3 separate regions of the Homo sapiens genome follow, and regions 1 and 3 are each linked to region 2. The links are contacts of gene promoters, found by promoter capture Hi-C in blood cells and fetal thymus (Javierre and others, 2016). All regions are on one chromosome and are shown on one strand. The core of a region is centred on a gene start or on the middle of the fragment in contact, and the rest is flanking DNA. Distances in the headings are between cores, read along the strand shown. Region 1 overlaps IFI16 (interferon gamma inducible protein 16). Region 2 holds the start of OR10T2 (olfactory receptor family 10 subfamily T member 2). Region 3 holds the start of PYDC5 (pyrin domain containing 5).

Evidence for each region. Contacts are between HindIII fragments. The CHiCAGO score rates a contact against its expected background, and 5 or more counts as called.
Region 1: a fragment that was not itself captured here is called in contact with the fragment with the promoter of OR10T2 in region 2 in 1 of 17 cell types (fetal thymus); the score reaches 8.5 in fetal thymus.
Region 3: a contact is called between a fragment that was not itself captured here and the fragment with the promoter of OR10T2 in region 2, in 3 of 17 cell types (fetal thymus, total B cells and naive B cells). The highest score is 16.4, in fetal thymus.

What each region holds. Positions count from the first base shown.
Region 1 is chr1:159,020,331-159,024,308 of GRCh38, reverse strand. It overlaps IFI16 (interferon gamma inducible protein 16), which reads right to left. Exons shown (of 12, transcript NM_001376587.1): 6 at 3,780-3,968. Among named protein-coding and RNA genes, the nearest start is that of IFI16, 12 kb to the right of the region's middle. The HindIII fragment of the contact is 4,898 bases long and covers 1-3,978 here.
Region 2 is chr1:158,398,130-158,402,365 of GRCh38, reverse strand. OR10T2 (olfactory receptor family 10 subfamily T member 2) reads left to right here and starts at 2,900. Exons shown (of 1, transcript NM_001004475.1): 1 at 2,900-3,844. The coding sequence starts at 2,900. The coding sequence ends at 3,844. The HindIII fragment of the contact is 4,820 bases long and covers 1,123-4,236 here.
Region 3 is chr1:159,001,934-159,006,165 of GRCh38, reverse strand. PYDC5 (pyrin domain containing 5) reads left to right here and starts at 3,415. Exons shown (of 1, transcript NM_001320010.2): 1 at 3,415-4,232. It also overlaps a transcript of IFI16 not described here. RefSeq lists enhancers at 1-253, 254-779. The HindIII fragment of the contact is 4,916 bases long and covers 1-3,708 here.

The DNA.
Region 1 (3,978 bases), core at 679-3,178, 620 kb before region 2:
AAAACACGCATTATTCCCCCATCTTCCCCTTCTTCAGTAGCCTCGGTTCTAGATCCCACACCAGTTGCCCCTACATCTAATAATAAAACTAGGTTGTCTATTGTAAAAATAAGACATCTAAGACAGACCTTAGCCATTAAGACAAAATATCAAGATGCAAATGCCTGGCTGGAATGAATTAAATATTCCCTTCGCACTTTAAATAAAAATTATTATCACGCTTGTACGCATGGTAGCCCAGAGGGCCAGATTATCCCCTTTCCACTCGGACGGTCTCCTCATTGACCAGAAATGGACATATGGTGGCTCTCTTGCAAAATCCCACAGTTTAGGATAATCCATCATGCTGAGCTCTCTATCTGTTATTTCCTGAAACTCAATACCCCGGGGGTCCGCCCCCGAGGGCAAGCCTGCTTCCACCTCTGAATGCCAAGTTTACTTTGTGCCTCTCACGGCAAGAGTAAAATTTGGTGTTCCTTAGAAGCATAAAAGGATGCAAGGAGCTCAAGCCTTTCCAAGAGCTTGCCCATCAGTCCACGCTTAGCCATCCCCAAGCAAATGTATGGTGATATTGTAGAGGACTTTTACTAGACACTCTGCCAAATAATTGGAGCAGTACTTATGCTCTAATCCAACTGGCTATCCCCTGCACCCTGGCATTTCACCAACCTAAAAAAAAAAAGGTAAAAACAAGACACTGCAGGCCAAAGGAAACTCCTCATGAGTCCTTTAAACGTTAGGTTTACATAAATGCTATTAAGGTCCTATGAGAAGTGCCAAATAAGTTTAAAGCACAAAATCAAATAGCTGCAGAGTTTAAATCCATGTTGCTCTGTTAAGTAACTATAAATTTTTTTTAAGTAGACTAAATAAACTATATCTACTATAATCAGCAACGATTCATAAATTACACTGAGGACGCCATCAAAGAGAAAGCTAAGCAATTAGGACCTACCAGCCAGATGGTCTAGAAAAATAAAATAGCTTTAAATATAATATTAGCAAAAAAAGAAGTTTGTGTCATAATTAAAACTCAATGTTATACCTTTATTCCTAATACTGCCCCTGATAGAACTATAACAAAAGTGCTACAAGGATTAACAGCCCTATCCGATAAACTTGCCAACAATTCTAAAATAAATAACTCTTTTTCTAAAATAATAAAACATTGGTTCAGCGGATAAAAAAAAAATTTAACTTCAATTCTCACCTCGTTTGCTCTTGTTATTGGTGTACTTATTCTTGTAGGCTGTTATATTATTCCCTGCCTTTGAAATTTTATACAAAAACTTATCTCTGCCACTCTTGCAGAGTTAACTCCTAATTCTCCTCCACCCTATTCTGAAAAATTACTTCTCTTAAAAGGACAAAAAAAAATTAAGTCAAAACATATTAAACAAGTTTAAAGAAGAATTATGAAATGAGGGGAAATTGTAAAAAGTAGAGGTTCCTCTTCAAAAACTTTCCTCCCCATCTAATTAGAAATAAATAGTAACTTCTCTTAAAAGCAAAATTTATTCAAAGACCTGTACAAACATTCTTAAATATCTGCTAGCCATAATAAAAAATCAATATACTTTATGTTCTTAGCTCCCACAATTTAGCCTAAATATTTGCCCTAACATGCTTATACTGATCCAAGCAAGCATTAGGTCATAGCCTGTTCCTCTTCCTTATTTAAAGGTGTTTTTACCTTTCTCAATATTCCACAAGTTACTTCCTCCTTCCTTTGTTCTCCTATGCCTTTGCCTCTTTTAAAAAGTTCTAAGTGCTAGCCAGTCGGGACAAATACAGAAGGTGAGGTCCCGTCCCAGCCAATGGAAACCGAACGCAGCAGGAGGGTGGCCGCGTCAGATTATAAATGAGCCTGTCTCCTTTGTTCCGTATACTCTTGTGGCAAAACTGCTGGCGAGTGTACCCTTTCTACAAAAAGTATAAAAATGGCCTTGCTGAAAAAATTAAATTGATATTCAAATGCTATTTATTTATGGCACCAGGGAACAAGCATTGCACATACAAATAATCCCATCAAAAAGTGGGCTAAGGGCCGGGCACGGTGGCTCACGCCTGTAATCCCAGCACTTTGGGAGGCCGAGGCGGGCGGATCACGAGGTCAGGAAATCGAGACCAACCTGGCTAACACGGTGAAACCCCGTCTCTACTAAAAATACAAAAAATTTAGCCGGGGGCGGTGGCGGGCGCCTGTAGTCCCAGCTACTCTGGAGGCTGAGGCAGGAGAATGGCGTGAACCCGGGAGGCGGAGCTTGCAGTAAGCCGAGATAGCGCCACTGCACTCCCGCCTGGGCAAAAGAGCAAGACTCTGTCTCAAAAAAAAAAAAAAAAAAAAAAAAAAAAAAAAAAAAAAAAAAGGGCTAAGGGCTAAGGACATGAATAGACAATTCTCAAAAGAAGATATGTAAATGGCCAACAAGCATAAGGAAAAACGCTCAACATCACTAATGATCAGGGAAATGCAAATCAAAACCACAAAATGATGCCACATTACTCGTGCAAGAATGGCCATAATCAAAAAATTTTAAAAAACAGACGCTGGCATCGATGTGGTGAAAAGGAACACTTCTACACCGCTGGTGGGAATGTAAACTAGTAGAACTACTATAGTAAACAGTGTATAGATTCCTTAAAGAACTAAAAAGCAGATCTACCATTTGATCCAGCAATCCCACTACTGGGTATCTACCCAGAGGAAAAGAAGTCAGTATACAAAAAAAGATCATTGCACATGCATGTTTACAGCAGCACAATTCACAACTGCAAAAATATGGAACCAGCCCAGATGCCCATCAGTAAACAAATGGATAAAGAAATGGGGTATGTATACACCGTGGAATACTATTACTCATCCATAAAAAGGAACAAAATAACGGCATTCACAGCAACCCGGATGGAATTGGAGACCATTATTCTAAGTGAAGTAACTCAGGAGAGGAAAACCAAACATTGTATGTTCTCACTCATAAGTGGGAGGTAAGCTATGAGGACACAAAGGCATAAGAATGATACAATGGACTTTGGGGACTCAGGGGAAAGAGTGGGAGGGGGGTGAGGGATAAAATGCTACATACACACTGGGTACAGTGTACGCTGCTTGGACGATGGGTGCATCAAAAAGTCAGAAATCACCACTAAAGAACTTATTCCTATAACGAAGCACCACCTGTTTCCCAAAAACCTACTGAAATAAAAAATAATTTACAACATTCAAAATGGCAACAGCGTAAAATCATGTACTGTAAGGAAACTTAACACGTGAATATTTGAATTCAAATTAACAAATTGGAGAGCTTCCTCTGTATAAAACTTTGTCAGTGGGACATAATTTTGATCACTGCAAATAATTTTAAGTTTCAAATTAGGTATTTTTATGGACTAAATACACACATATGTGTATTGTAATGTTACAAACTAGAAAGTATCACACACACACACACACACACACACGACGTTTTCTAATTCACAAATGGAGAACATGTAATTTTAAATCCCAACCCTACAATCACTTAAAAGTTTACATAAAATTCAGAGTTCAATTTTTTTGATAAAGTTCAGATTTCTTTCTTTTTAAAATTGTATCCTATCACATCATTCCATCCAGAAAAAAAAAATTAAAAAAAGTAAATGTGAATACAAGGAGAATATCTGTTTTCTCATGCCTCCCGCTGAACTCTGTAAAAAAAACCTACAAACTTGTTTTTGCCAAAACTTAAAGCAAATCATTTCCACTTTGGAAAACTAATATTTGCCTATTTAATTCTTACCTGGATAAAACTATGCATTTCTGAAATCAGTTTTGACATCTGGTTCTTTTTTCTAAGTCGAAAGCAGAAAAGTTGGAGCTTATCTCCTTCTTCACAGGGGATATTGTGACATTGTCCTGTCCCCACTACATCCATTTTTCCTCTATCATCCTGAATTTCGTAGATTGTGGTCTTCTGATTTACTGTTTTCTGTAACAGA
Region 2 (4,236 bases), core at 1,651-4,150:
TAAAAGATGATTTTGAAAAAAAATAAAAATTTAAAAATAATACGGATTATAGTAGAACAAAGAATATATTCCAGAAAAAAATAGCAGATGAGAAAACTCATAAACAAAAGAAGAATGAAATAAACCATGCCATAATTTATTAAGTATTTAATTAGTGTCTGTTGTGTGCCCAGTATTGTTTGCAGCTGCTGCGGATTGTTTAGAATACGTTGCTATGCCCCCTGCCTCAAAGAAAGAATGTAAGTAAGGTTATGAGGCATCCACATAGGCAAATTGGTTATAAAGTAATACAAGATATTACCTAACCTGTTCCCATACATGCATGATTTTAAAGTCCCTAAGGGCTATGAAGAGAATGAGCATCTGTATGGACTCTAGTAGGCAGGGAAGGTTTATTGGAGAACATGGGACATGACAGGGATTTGAATATGAAAAACAATGGGCAAAACAAGTATATGAAGCAACCTGAAAAAAGATATAGAAGCAGTACTAGTGTTGAGGACAAGATTAGAGGATATTTTTTATTTAACAAAATTCTCATGAAAGTCACAGAAAAAGAAGCTAATGATTTAGGGAGACATTGCAATTTGTTTGGTTCATAAAACTGTGATTGAAATTAAGCAACATCCTCTTGACCTTCCTTGCCTTTGAGTGTTTTCATCAATCATATCGTTGATTTGCCTACTTTCCTACCCCTTTTTCCTTTTTTTCTTATCTCCCTAATATTAAGATTAAAGAGAATAAAGCTCATATTGTAAAATTTGATAATTCAAAAACTTGGATAATTAAAATTGGATTATTCCAGAAAAGTCAGAAATGTTCAAATAAGTTTTACTTGAACAAGCAGTGTGGAACTATGCTTTCATCCCTTGGAAAAAGTATATGAGCAGATCATCTTCTCACAAGGTAAAGAATGGGTGCCATAAAATTTGGTAAGTAGAAAGTGGATTTGAAGTTAGAAGACTTGAATTCTGATACTGGATCTACCACTTGAGCATATTATTTAATTTTTGACATTCTAATCAAGTCAAAATATTTGAGCACATGATAAATCACAAACTATGCTATATTCTAGGGACTCATTTTTTAATTAAAAAAAGTTATTCCTGCATGTGAGAAGCTTATAATCTATAAAGAGTGCCAAATATATAAAGAGGTATGTTCAATGCAACATGTTAAATGCAAGGATGAGGATGTTCATGGGTTACTCTGCCCAGGAGAGGGCACTTAGTACACTTGCCTTACCCGTGAGATAGCGACAGACACTTTTGCTATCTACCAGGATGTTAGAGTCAAAATGAAGTAGCTTACATGAAAGCATCTTATTTTCCGCAAGGTCTGAAACAAAGGAAAAAGCTGTTGTAGCAGGTGTGTGGAACTACCTAAGCAAATAAACCACAACAGAGATGATGAACAATGAACAAACTCAAGTGTGTCATGTCAAACAACTCCTAACATCTTATAGCCATTAAAGTAGCCAACAAGTTGGGAGATGTTGAGTTGTGCAAATATTACATCTGGTTTCTCCTGAATCTCTGAAGCTGATTCTGAAAGTAAAAATGATTAGGGCTCTGGGAGGAGGAATAACCTAGACTATAAAATAATGGGAAGTTCCTGAGATAGGCTCTTCTCTTTCCATTTAGCACTTTCTGGCTATTTTATTTGCAAGAGATTCAAGGTGTGTTCACGTTATTTCCTCTCCTTTCTTCAATAGAGAGAAGACTTAACCTAAGTCTTCCTGCTCCACCCCTATCCCTAGTGATCATCAATCTATTTTGTTTCATAGACAGATACATCATAACCTTGTGACCCAGGTTTTACACTTGGGTCCCTTCACAGTTCCAGAAACATACAGAACAAATGTCATAGAATCATGAAAGAGAATTCAAAGGCTATAGACTCCTTAGATAAAAAAGGGCAGATTTATTAAAGAACCCTGATTTAATCATCCCACAATGTATACATGTATCCAAACATCACATAATACCCCATAAATAGGTATAATTATTAGTTGCTAATAAAAAATAAATTAAAAAGAAAATAATTTTTAATGTAAAAGTAACAGTTCTTTCTTTAACTGTGCATATTTAAATTTTTGCTCAATTTTAAAAAAAGAATCTCAAGGATAAGAACACTTGAGTCAAATGCAGGGAAACTCTGTCCTGATTTAAGGATCCAGGCTCTTCTAGTGTTCAAATATCAAACCAGGATATTTGCCTCTCAACTCCTTAACTGCATAAGCAGCTGACACATAGATTGGAGTTACTATGTGTTAAGTGCTGTTTCAAGTACTTTACTGATACCATCTAAGTTCTTACAACAATCCTATATAATATGTTCTATTATTATTTATGTCTTACAAATGACAAAAATTGTCACACTGAAGTTCATAGCTCTAAGTGGCAAAGGCAAGTTTCAAACTCTAGCATTCTTGTTCCTGAGTTCATGCTCTGAGGCACAGTGTTTTAATGCCTTTACAATAATGCTAATTAAATGGATTGTGATATTAGGAAAAGAAACCAAATTACTAGGATAGAATATACATCCAAGGACCAAATACATACAGTACAAGAAAAATAATTTAAATTTTCTATTCCATATTAAAGGTAATGTTCTTCTTAAACTGAGAGAATTTTTTCACTTTGTCAAATAGTTGGATCCTTTTAACTTTGGGGTATTTATATACTGTAGATAATCATTTCTCTGTTACTTCAGATTAATAATTTTTTGGAAAAATCATTAAAGAGGCATCTATATCTAGATAGACTAAGAGAAAGAGATGTTAACATTATGAATCTGACAATATACTTAAAGTGAAGGCGTTGGGAAAATGTTCGTATTACAAAGATAGTTATCATTTTGTCTCTTTCAAACACATTCACAGAAAGAAGTTCTTCAGATGCGAGGTTTCAACAAAACCACTGTGGTTACACAGTTCATCCTGGTGGGTTTCTCCAGCCTGGGGGAGCTCCAGCTGCTGCTTTTTGTCATCTTTCTTCTCCTATACTTGACAATCCTGGTGGCCAATGTGACCATCATGGCCGTTATTCGCTTCAGCTGGACTCTCCACACTCCCATGTATGGCTTTCTATTCATCCTTTCATTTTCTGAGTCCTGCTACACTTTTGTCATCATCCCTCAGCTGCTGGTCCACCTGCTCTCAGACACCAAGACCATCTCCTTCATGGCCTGTGCCACCCAGCTGTTCTTTTTCCTTGGCTTTGCTTGCACCAACTGCCTCCTCATTGCTGTGATGGGATATGATCGCTATGTAGCAATTTGTCACCCTCTGAGGTACACACTCATCATAAACAAAAGGCTGGGGTTGGAGTTGATTTCTCTCTCAGGAGCCACAGGTTTCTTTATTGCTTTGGTGGCCACCAACCTCATTTGTGACATGCGTTTTTGTGGCCCCAACAGGGTTAACCACTATTTCTGTGACATGGCACCTGTTATCAAGTTAGCCTGCACTGACACCCATGTGAAAGAGCTGGCTTTATTTAGCCTCAGCATCCTGGTAATTATGGTGCCTTTTCTGTTAATTCTCATATCCTATGGCTTCATAGTTAACACCATCCTGAAGATCCCCTCAGCTGAGGGCAAGAAGGCCTTTGTCACCTGTGCCTCACATCTCACTGTGGTCTTTGTCCACTATGGCTGTGCCTCTATCATCTATCTGCGGCCCAAGTCCAAGTCTGCCTCAGACAAGGATCAGTTGGTGGCAGTGACCTACACAGTGGTTACTCCCTTACTTAATCCTCTTGTCTACAGTCTGAGGAACAAAGAGGTAAAAACTGCATTGAAAAGAGTTCTTGGAATGCCTGTGGCAACCAAGATGAGCTAACAAAAAATAATAATAAAATTAACTAGGATAGTCACAGAAGAAATCAAAGGCATAAAATTTTCTGACCTTTAATGCATGTCTCAGACAGTGTTTCCAAGGATTAAGACTACTCTTGCCTTTTTATTTTCTCCTATTCCAAAAAGAAAAAAAATGCAAGTCAATCTACACTCTATATTGTCCGATGTCTAGTTAAAAAAAAAGAATTCACACTTGGCAAAAAGAGAAAAGCATGAGAGTTTTTCAAGGAAAGACACAACCAAAACAAATATAAGGACAAGAATTGCTTTTCCAGTTGGAGAGACAGAACAGAGTCTGAAGTGGCTGGAAGCATTTTTATCCGGGACACAGGCATTCATCTAGTAATACATTCATCTGTGTACCAAGTCCCATTC
Region 3 (4,232 bases), core at 1-2,500, 610 kb before region 2:
GTGTGGGGTATTTTCTTAACTCGCTTGGGTACAACAATATAAGCACAAGGCAAGCTCAGACCAAAGAAGAGGCAGACCACTCCTGGCTGGTTGGTAGTCAAAGATCTAGATAGCAGAAACTTACACAGGAGGCAGTCTTAAGCGGGAACAAGAGAAGTCAGATCTCCACCTCGCAGTGCACGCCTGAGTAGTCTTTCAGACAGTGAGAAGAAACAAGGAAGGAAAAGCTGATGGGGGCGCTGAGGGGTGGGGATAGCTATACCGATAGTGCCTTAGGCCATCTGGTTGCTCTCTTAATCTATTTACTTCCTGCTTAAATGGATTGTTTGAGCTTCCTTCAATCTGTTCCACATTGCTAAGGAGTGGGAGGATGTTCCTGGAAGCAGCAGTCATCTTGGTGCCAGTATGCATTTTCCAGTGGGACTGCAGCCTCCTACAATTCAATTTAAGCTCAGTTCCCAGAACACGTTTTCACAACAATGCCATTCCTTCCCCTCCAACCTCAAGGCTTCTCTCAGCCAGTCCTTCCTTGAAATTTTGTAGTTTCTGTATTGCAGTTTTGTATTCTACTTTTCCTGTTGCTCAAAGCTAATGCCATAAACTCCAGACAACTCTGTTGGCAGAAAGAGCTTCTGTAGTTCTAGGGATGACCTCTTTACTTTGGAGTGGAATAAAAGAGACTCAGTGTTGAGGCAGGAGAGGAGAGTGAATGCATATGGAAACCTGGGGAGTGATGTGAACCAGTCATGATATACTGTACAAGGCCAGAGTTGGCATCATTCATCTGTTTATTGCATGTCTCATGGAGAAAATATGAGTGAAAGAAGTTTCTGGTTCATGAAAACTCCTGTTCTCTGACCCTCCCTGTAATGGACATGCATACTTTCCCACTGTCTTAGTCCATTTAGTGCTGCTGTAATGGAATACTATAGACTGGGTAATTTATACAGAACAGAAATGTATTTCTCACAGTACTTGAGGTGGAAGTCCAAGGTCAAGCATCAGTATCTGGTGAGGCCTTCTTGCTGTGTCCTCACATGACAAACGGGGCGAATTCACCCCCTACATGCCCGTTAGAGTGGCATTAATCAGTCTATTTACGTGAGTGAAATTCTCATGATCTAAATACCTCCCATTTGGCCCAAGCTCCCAACACTGTTGCATTGGGTACTAAGTTTCAACATTATTTTTGAAGGGGGTAAAAACATTGATAGTTTCTACTTCTCCGGCTTTATCTCTGCTATCTTCATTCTTTATTTGCTTATTTTATCTAAAACTGTTCTCCAGAAAGCATTCTTTGAGGATCTTTACTAGATTGATAATTTCTTTACTCTGTTTAATTTCAGGACTTCACTTTGGCTGTCAAAATTTCCCTTGATATAATTTATCTCTAAAATTGAAGATGAGATTCTCTACTGTTGTCAGTAATGAACTCTCCACCCTAAACATCTGGTTTTGGGAATTTTTTTTCTTTTGAGACGGAGTCTTGCTCTGTTGTGATGGCACGATCTCGGCTCATTGCAACCTCTGCCTCCCAGGTTCAAGTGATTCTCCTGCTTCAGCCTCCTAAGTAGCCAGAATTACACGCATGCACCATCAAGCCTGGCTAATTTCTGTATTTTCAGTAAAGACAAGGTTTCACCATGCTGGCCAGGCTGGTCTCAAACTCCTGATCTCAAGTGACCCACCCACCTCGGCCTCCCAAAGTGCTGGGATTAGAGGCGTGAGTCACGATGCCCGGCTGGTTTTGGGAATTCTTACCCCAAATTACTAACATCTATAATTTACTCAGATTTACTTAGCAATAAGGGCAAAATTAACTGAAATTTAGATTTCTTAACCTTTTTTTTTTCTTTTGGAGATAAGGTCTTGCCATGTTGCCCAGGCTGATCTCAAACTCCAGAGCTCAAACAATCTACCTACCTCAGCCTCCCAAAGTGCTGGGATTACAGGCATAAGCCACCACATCCATCCTTAATATTTTGGCTGGAATTTGGGTATTAATATATTAAGAAGAGAGAAATAAAATTTACAAGTAATGGAGAAGTGGTGTTTGAATTTTATTTCCTTTTATGTTTTAGATTAAGGGTTGACAATCTTTGGTTCAAGGAAAGAAACTGCTGTTCACACAAATAAGTGCTTCTATGTGTTTGAATGTTTAAGGTATCAAGTCATGAGTGTCAGAAATGCAAAATAATACAGAATTGGCTGGGCGCGGTGGCTCACGCCTGTAATCCCAGCACTTTGGGAGGCTGAGGCGGGCGGATCACAAGGTCAGGAGATCGAGACCATCCTGGCTAACACAGTGAAACCCCGTCTCTACTAAAAATACAAAAAATTAGCTGGGCATGGTGGCGGGCGCCTATAGTCCCAGCTACTCGGGAGGCTGAGGCAGGAGAATGGTGTGAACCCAGGAGGCGGAGCTTGCAGCGAGCCGAGCTCATGCCACTGCACTCCAGCCTGGGCGACAAAGCGAGACCCCGTCTCAAAACATAATAATAATAATAATAATAATACAGAATTATGGACATACAAGATAGGAGAAGTTTATGGTGCAAATACCTATCGCCTTGGTCTTTTTGTTCCCTAACTCAGTGACAGGTGGCTAACTGCTCCTTAGGCTGATAGAGCCAAAACGTGATTCCAGCCTAAGAATCACAAAAGAGCAAAACAGAGGAGGGATTGCTTAGGTAACAGAGATCGAGCTCCTTTAGGAATTTGGAATATGGCAAGTTATTTCTTCTTAGCTTTACGGCAGTAATTTAAGTGTTATGTGATTTTGTAATTGCAGAATATTATGACATAGCCAGAATAAAAATACATCTATTGTCTAAATAGATAACTGGATTCACCAGTTAAATTATCGTGAAAAAATAACTAATAGCAGAAACATTAAAATAAACCATGCGATTTTCTATCAGCTTAGTCTGAAAGTTCACACAAATTCAATTACTTGAAGTTTCCCTGCAATACACCATGTTTTACTTCCTTCTTAGAATCTAGGGTATCTTGCACAGTGGAACCATAGGAAGTTGGATTACTCCCACCAGAGATGGAAGTTTCCAAATTTTCCACTTTTATTAAATATATGTTATATATTTGGCATAATGCCTTGGATTTTGAAAAGCCTTCTTAACCTTGCTGTCTTTTGAAATCATTCTACAAGTAGATAGATATGGTTTGATTATAATTTTGTTTTTTATCTATGCTATTTCTGGCTTGAACATCCCTCTTCAAGAATGTGCAGTGAGGACATTTGCTCTGTGCATTCTCAGGTAACTCTGGCTCTTGAGTAATCAAGCCATATGGATGAATAGAGCCTAGGAAGTAGAGATTCCCAGGGCTGAAGTCTTAGATGGGATGCCTAGACAGTTGATTCAACATATGTTTATTTAACAAATGTTTATTGAGGACCTACTACTCTAGGTGGTAGGAGTACAGCAATAAACAGCACACAAATGCTTGACCACAAGGCACTTCTATTTCAGCAGGCTGGCCATTAAAGAATAAACAAATAGCAACAGCATTTATACTATAATGTCATATATAATATAATGCTTATATATTACAAGCAGATAAATTCTATGAAGAAATACAAATGGTATGAGGTAATAGTAACGGTATCGTGCTATTTTGCAGCATGTGTTCATTGAAGGATGAGCTTAGAAAAAAACAAGCAGAAATCTGAACAGAGTGAAGGAGCAAGCTTTGCCAATATTCTGGTTGAAAAGAAATAAATGATTTGACAAAGAAAATAATTGCTAATGCTTCAATTATAACACTACTATATATCTGAGGGTTGGTGTTTTCGAAGCAAATAACACTAGTTTTTTTTTTCTTTCTTTTTTAATTTTTTTAAACAGAGAATCATTCCATACTCTCTGTATGATAAGCAGGCTGTTGGCATAAGAAAAAGCAGAGCTCCTGGATTCAGAAGACTTGAATTCAGTAATATGTACTGTCTTTTACTAGCTGTTTGGTTCCAGGTAACTCATGCCACCTAATTTAAAATGTAACAATTGAGAGACTATAATAAATGCCAGCTGTTTTGTATCAGGCATACCATACTGTGTATTTACAACCTGGAGATAGGAATTATCATCCCCATTCAGAGATGATTATATGCTCCCTCAACATTTTCTTTTCTTTGTGTCTTCCAGGCTTCATGTGAAAGCACTTTGTACACAGTAAGTTGCTACCCAGTGTCAGCTATTATGCATGGTACAGGACCA